Regions from separate parts of the Homo sapiens genome. Here region 2 is linked to region 1. Evidence: promoter capture Hi-C in human tissues and cell types (Jung and others, 2019). All regions are on one chromosome and are shown on one strand. The core of a region is centred on a gene start or on the middle of the fragment in contact, and the rest is flanking DNA. Distances in the headings are between cores, read along the strand shown.

Evidence for each region. Contacts are between HindIII fragments. The study calls those that stand out against the background at their distance.
Region 2: a contact is called between a fragment that was not itself captured here and the fragment with the promoter of TAF2 in region 1, in 1 of the 25 tissues and cell types used here (mesendoderm cells).

Annotation. Positions count from the first base shown.
Region 1 is chr8:119,831,103-119,834,820 of GRCh38, reverse strand. TAF2 (TATA-box binding protein associated factor 2) reads left to right here and starts at 1,980. Exons shown (of 26, transcript NM_003184.4): 1 at 1,980-2,339; 2 at 3,090-3,144. The coding sequence starts at 2,257. It overlaps DSCC1 (DNA replication and sister chromatid cohesion 1), which reads left to right. Exons shown (of 9, transcript NM_024094.3): 9 at 1-845. It overlaps LOC105375728 (a long non-coding RNA gene), which reads right to left and starts at 1,942. Exons shown (of 4, transcript XR_928590.3): 1 at 1,745-1,942. RefSeq lists enhancers at 1,859-2,218, 2,279-2,328. The HindIII fragment of the contact is 6,114 bases long and covers 1-2,399 here.
Region 2 is chr8:119,770,226-119,773,943 of GRCh38, reverse strand. All of the region lies in intron 18 of TAF2 (TATA-box binding protein associated factor 2), which reads left to right. Among named protein-coding and RNA genes, the nearest start is that of TAF2, 61 kb to the left of the region's middle. The HindIII fragment of the contact is 3,653 bases long and covers 202-3,718 here.

The DNA of each region.
Region 1 (3,718 bases), core at 731-3,230:
CTTTTATTTCTGACTTTTAGAAACCTAGTCTTCTAAGGCATTTTTCTCCTCATCTTAAGCATTTTGAAACTACTGTTATTTCTTAAATGTTATAGGATGTAGCTTTAAAATTATATTTGTACTATGTACACAGTGTAAACAAGGACAAAAGAATTCTTTCCTATATTATGTCTGAGGTCTCTATGATTTATTTAAAGTTTGGCTTTTTATATTTAAAATGTCATTTCTTTACTTAGGATTTGATGTTCTAATCATTAATACACTTAAGTTTTCCAGAGAACTAAATAGTAATAGTTTCATAGAAGAGAACTATTTATTCACTTAAATATCATTTCTCAAGTGAGTGAGTTCCCCTCTACTTTTAGCCTTCCACCCAAACTGGAAGCCTCTAGGTGCTATCAATTATTTATATCCATCGTTTACATCCATGAAATTGGCTGAATAATTACTCCTCTGCCTGGCGTAGACATGCGCTTTGGGAAAAAAACGAGTTTATAATCCTATAATGAAGAATACTGGCACAGGCAATGCTCACTCGAAAACTTCAAGTAATTTCTAGTTGGTTTTGGAATGCTTGATAAAGTTCCTTTACAGCTTTATTTTCCTGATTTGTTTTGGTTTAGATCAAAGTTCAAATTAATTTTAACTTAGCTAATGAACTCATCACCAGGACAGTTGGAGGGGGTAGGCCGAGGTTAAATGGTCCACGTTTCAAAAATGTTAATGGCTAATCCATAATTAAAGAAGGTTTAACTGTTACTGAAGTTTACAAGTTTTATTGTCATGAACATGAAATACAAACACGATGGCTTCGAAATGTCTTTCAATAAATGTTTCTGCATTTATATGGATTATATGATATATATACACAGTCTATATATCTCTATGTAGTCTATTTATTTATTTTGAGAGGGAGTCTCGCTTTGTCTCCCAGACTGGAGTGCAATGGCATGATCTCAGCTCACTGCAAACTCGGCTTCCCGAGTTCAGGTGATTCTGGTGCCTCACCCTCCCGAGTGGCTGGGAATACAGGCGCACGCCACGACGCAGGGCTAATTTTTGTATTTTTACTAGAGACGGGCTTTCACCATGTTGGCCAGGCTGGTCTTGAACTGCTGACCTCAAGTGATATGACTGCCTCAGTTTCCCTAAGTGCTAGGATTACAGGCGTGAGCCACCACGCCTGGCCTGTAGTCTATATTTTATTCTTTTTTTTTTTTTCTGAGACAGTCTCAGCTCTGTCGCCCAGGCTGGAGTGCAGTGGAACGATCTCAGCTCGCTGCAACTTCCGTCTCCCAGGTTCAAGCAATTCTCCTGCCCCAGCCTCCCAAGTAGCTGGGATTACAGGCGTGCACCACCACGCCCAGCTAATTTTGTGTAATTTTTAGTAGAGACGGGGTTTCACCATGTTGGTCAGGCTGGTCTCGAACTCCTGACCTCAAATGATCGGCCCGCCTCGGCCTCCCAAAGTGTTGGGATTACAGGAGTGAGCCACTGCGCCCGGCCTTGTAATCTATATTTTAAAATAAATACTAAGGCAGCAGTGCCTAGTGAGAGCTGTGGAGTGCTGCAGTTTTGACATTTAGACTACCTGCAGTCTAATCACATATTTTACAGCTTAAATCACCGGACCCAGTGTGTCTGTTCACACAGCAAGCCAGAGGCACGCACCTCCTGATTTCGGGAGACTTCCCACCACCCCACCCCGCCCAGTTACTAGCACCCTGCCCCAGCCTATTTATACCTGGCTCTTCGCAAACTTTGTCCTCCATTCTTCTCAATATGCTTGTACTAGAAAACTACCTTCCCTCCTTTTCTTCCTGCTGTTCTCGCTTCATCCATTAAATAGTTTTTTCCCTATCCTAAATTTTAACAATTCTTTACGATAAGACACATGCGAAGATCGCAAGCCCTGCCCATTGACAAGACTTCCTGGTTCTACCCCCGCCGCCGTTCCACTTCCGCTGACGTCGGAGGTCAGAGGTTACAGACAAGATGTCGGCGGATGGTAGCTTCGAGCCCTTGCGGAGAGGAGCATCTCTGTGACAGAAGCTTGTCGACGGCGGCTTCTAGGAGCTAGTCGAAGGAGCGAGGTTGAGGCGGGCAGCGACCCGTCAGGTCGCTCACCTGGGCACCGGCCAGCTGCGAGACGTGACTTGGGGACCGCAGGGGAGTGGAGAGTGTGAGGTGCCAAAGACTAGTAATGCCCCGTATCCCCCTAGGAAGCCGGGAAGCCAAGCTCCGCGGGACCGCTTCATGCCGCTGACTGGTGTAGAGCCCGCCAGAATGAACAGGAAGAAAGGAGACAAGGGCTTTGAAAGCCCAAGGCCATATAAATTATAAGTATTTTTTCATTTCCCTTCCTTCCTTTTGGTTTTGTTGCCATTAATTATATTTTGCGATTGCTTGAAATTGACTTGGTGGGCCTGGGAAACCTAGTGGGAAACTAGAATTTACTCACTGTGATGGAAATGGTGTTTGTAAGGTAAAAATGTTTTGAATGACAGGTTATTCAGCAAATTTAATTCCCGTTGCAAGTTACTAAAGTTTTTGTCTAAGTACTAGATTGTATTTCTGTCAAATCTGTTTTCGTGACTGTTGCTAGATTTTAAAAAATTATCCCAATTGGTAGAGTGTTTTTTTTTTTTTAATTTTTTAATTTTTAAGACGGAGTCTCTCAGTCGCCCAGGCTGGAGTGCAACGGCGCGATCTCGGCTCACTGCAGCCTCCACCTGCCGGGTTCAAGCTTTTCTCCTGGCTCAGCCTCCTGAGTAGCCGGGATTACAGGCGTGTGCCACGATGCCCGGCTAACTTTTGTATTTTTAGTAGAGACTCGGTTTCACTCTGTTGGCCAGGCTGGTCTCGAACTCTTGACCTCGTGATCCGCTTGCCGTGGCCTCCCAAAGTGCTGGGATTACAGGCGTGAGCCACCGCACCAGGCCCCAATTCGTAGTTTTAAAATGAAATATTGACATGTAATTTTGAATTACTTAGAACATAGTCCTAATTTATACTTGGATAGAATTATACTTTGATTTAATAATAAAAATTATTTTTTCCTTATTTTCTTTTTATATTTATTAATATACAACCCATCAGGTCGTCTGCATCAACAACATAAATTTCCAGAGAAAATCTGTTGTGGTAAGTTTATTCTCAACAATTATAAATAGTAACAAGTCCACTATAAAGAGTAACAATCCACCCCTCACAGTACTTAGAAAGTTTGTAGTCTTCCAGATAATTGTGTTTCAAGAATAGGTAAGAATTAAAATTAGGGTCTGTATGATTACAAGTTCCATGGTCCTTCTATTAATACCTATTGCCTCCCAAATTCTCCCTTTCCTTTTTTTTCAATTTCCTAATTAAAATTTTATTCCTCTTTATCTGGTGTATAATATGAAAGCCTGTATAGCCAAGCATTTTATAATTGTGCATGAAACAAGTATAAGCCCATAGCGACATTTCTTCTATGAAAAAAATTAAGATTAATACACTCACTGACTTGGCTTCTAAGAGGCCATTTTTGCTTCTTGACTGACTTGGTTTAGGTGATGTTGCTTTGTAATGAAGTTTTAGATAGAGTATTTGAGATCTAGAAACCCTCTACCTCCCCCTGCCTCCCGACACAATTTAGATGTATGGATTGCTGATATAATCAATTTTAGGAAAAAGCTTGAACATTCAAGTTTTTTGTTTGTTTGTTTGTTTTTGGAGA
Region 2 (3,718 bases), core at 779-3,278, 61 kb after region 1:
CGCCTTGGCCTCCCAAAGTGCTGGGATTAGAGGCGTGAGCCATCGCGCCTGGCCAAGAACAATATTTTTAATAAGACAATTATTATGACATTAGGTTAATTAACCTGCTAAGGAAGTGCTTGGAAGGATTAACCCAAATTAAGGATGGGGAAGCCAGAAAAGGCTTCCTGGGAAAGGTTGAATCTAGAGAGAGCTGTAAGTTGTTGAGGTGAAAGAACAGGAGAGGAGGAATATGTGGTCAATTATAGAATCTATATATAGAGAGGGAGCTTATTGAATTTGAGAGGTTTCAAGATCATTATTTTAGAAGTTATTTTTATAACTTTTGGCATATTTCTTGAAAATGGATCCATCTTCCTCATATTTTTACTTACCTCATAAGATGTGAGTATCTTAACTCCTACTATAAATCCAGTTTCTATTATTGTATAAATTATGTAAGTACAAAGAGGATATAGATATAAATTTAACCCTCTGTAAGTCTAAGAAATCTGAGAGAGGATGGTGGGGAGTAAGAATGGGGAGAAAGGGTTGGGAAAATAATTGTAGCCTTGAAGAAATGAGGGATTGATTTAGAATTTAGAAAGTTATGGAAAGTATATCAACTTTTAACTTGGAACTTATCAGCAAACTGAGCTCTTAAGACTTCTTTGTATTTTTTTTTACATAAATAGAAATGGTAGTGTATTATAAGAATAGCTTTAGCACAATGCTATTTGGAAAAGAATAATCTACTTATTAGGTAATTGTGCTGTTTAATTTTGTAGCTAAATTTTGCTATTATTTCTTCTCCTATCTTTTTAAAAAAGGAAAATTTTAAAGAAAGGTAACCATAGGTTTTTTTTTTTTTTGAGAAAATCCAAGCTTGCTTTTTCAATAATGATGATGTTGATTCTGATGTTCACTTATTGAGTGCTTAGTACATTCTTGGTACCATAAGTGCTTTTCCTGCATTTTCTTATTTTAAGTAATATTATTATTGTTATTATTATTATTATTATTATTTGAGATGGAGTCTGTCTCTTGTTAACCAGACTGGAGTGCAGTGGCATGATCTCGGCTCACTGCAACCTCCACCTCCTGGGTTCAAGTGATTCTCCTGCCTCAGCCTCCTGAGTAATTGGGATTATAGGTGTCTGCCACCACGCCCAGCTAATTTTTGTATTTTTAGTAGAGACGGGGTTTCACCATGTTGGCCAGGCTGGTCTCGAACTCCTGACCTCAGGTGATCTGCCCACCTTGGCCTCCCAAAGTGCTGGGATTACAAGCGTGAGCCACCACACCCGGCCTTATTTTAATTAATATTATTATTTTATATTGTGTATCTTTTAAAAATTTATTTTAGATTCAAGGGGTGGGTAGGTCTGCGGGTTTTTACATTGATATGTTACCTAACAGTTGGGTTTGGACTTCTAGTGTACCCATTACCCGAGTAGTAACCGTTGTACCCAATAGGTAATTTTTCAACCCTCGCTTCCCTCCTAGCCTCCGCTCTTTTGGAATTCCCAGTTTCTATTATTTCCTTCTTTATGTCCATGTGTTCCCATTGTTTAGTTCCCACTTACAAGTGAGAGGATATGGTATTTGTCTGTTTCTAAGTTATTTCACTTAGGATAATGGCTTCCAACTGCAGTCATGTTGCTGCACAAGACTATTTTGTTCTTTTTTGTGACTACATTTTCTTTGTTCAATCCAAAGTAGGTTGTTAATTTGAGATCTCTCTTTTTGATGTAGGCATGCAATGCAATAAACTTTACTCTTAGCATTGCTTTTGCTGTATCCAAGAGGTTTTGGTATGTTGTATCTCTATTTTCATTCTTTTTTTTATTTGTCTTGATTTTATTGCTTAGCCAAAAGTCATTCAGGATCAAGTTGTTCAGTTTCCATTTGCTCATGTAGTTTTGAGAGTTCCTCTTGATATTGATTTGTAATTTTATTCCACTGTGGTCTGAGAAGATACTTGATATTTTTGATTTTTTTTAATTTATTGAGATTTTGCATTTTAGCCAAGCATGTGGTCAGTTTGGGGGAATGTTCCATGTTCAGATGAGAAAAACGTATATTCTGCAGTTGTGGGTAGAATGATCTGTAAATGTCTGTTAGGTCCATTTGGTCTAGATTCTAGTTTAAGTCCAGAGTTTCTTTGTTGACTTTCTGCCTCAATGACCTATCTAGTGTTTTCAGTGGGGTGTTGAAGTCCACCACTATTATTGCATTGCTGTCAATCTCTTCTTAGGTGTAGGTGTTGTTTTATGAATCTGGGTGCTCCAGTGTTGGGTGTGTATAAAATTAATTCTTGGTTTTGTTTTAAACTTCGTCAGTATATAATGCCTTTCATTTTGCTTCTTTCTTTCTTTACTATTGTCAGTTTAAAGTCTATTTTATCTGATGTAAGAATGGCTACTCGTGGCCGGGCACAGTGGCTTATTCCTGTAATCCCAGCACTTTCGGAGGTCGAGGAGGGCAGATTGCTTGAAGTCAGGAGTACAAGATCAGCCTGGCCAACATGGTGAAACCTCGTCTCTACTGAAAATACAAAAATTAGCCAGGTGTGGTCGCACATGCTTGTAATCCCAGCTACTCAGGAGGCTGAGGCAGGAGAGTCACTTGAACCTAGGACGGGGAGGTTGCAGTGAGCCGAGGTTGCACCACAGCACTCCATCCTGGGCAACAGAGCGAGAACCTGTCTCAAAAAAGTAAAAAAGAATGGCTACTCCTGCTTGCTTTTATTTTTCATTTGCGTAGTATATCTTTTTCCATCCCTTTACTTTGAGTCTGTAGGTGTCTTTTGTCATTGAGGGGGTCTCTTCTAGGCAATAGATGGTAGTGTCTTGTTTTTTATCCAACATGCCATTCTATATCTTTTTTTTTAAGAGACGGAGTCTCGCTCTGTCGCCCAGGCTGGAGTGCAGTGGCGTGATCTCAGCTCACTGCAACCTCCACCTCCCAGGTTCAAGCAGTTCTTCTGCCTCAGCCTCCTGTGTAGCTGGGACTACAGGTGCATGCCACCAGGCCCAGCTAATTTTTTGTATTTTAGTAGAGACAGGTTTTCACCATGTTGCCCAGGCTAGTCTCGAACTCCTGAGTTCAGGCAGTCCGCCCTCAGTCTCCCAAAGTGGTAGGATTACAGGCGTGAGCCACTGCACCTGGCCACTCTATATATTTTAAGTGGAGCATTTATGCCATTTCTGTTCAAGGTTAATATTGAAATGTGAGGTTTTCTTCCTGTCATAGTGTTGTGGGTAGTTGCCTTGGGGCCTTAATTGTGTAATTATAGGATCTGTGAGCTTTCTGCTTGCATGTGCTTTTATGTTGGTGAGTGTCATCCTTTCATTTCTATATTTAGAACTCCTTTGAGCATTTATTATAGGTCTGTTCTAGTGGTGATGAATTCCCCTTGATTTGCTTGTCTGGGAAATACTTTATTTTTCCTTCATTTATGAAGCTTGGTTTGGCAGGATATAAAATTCTTGGCTGGCAATTTTTGTCTTTAAAGAGATGAAAAATAGACCCCCAATCTCTTCCTGCTTGTAAGGTTTCTGCTGAGAAGTCTGATGGGATTTCCTTTATAGGTGATTTGACACTTCTTTCTAGCTGCTTTTAAGATTTGTTCTTTTATGTTGGCCTTGGGTGGTCTGGCCACTATATGCTTTTGTGAGGTTTGTCTTGTATCATTATCTCCCAGTTGTTACCTGGATTTCTTGTCTGGATATCTATC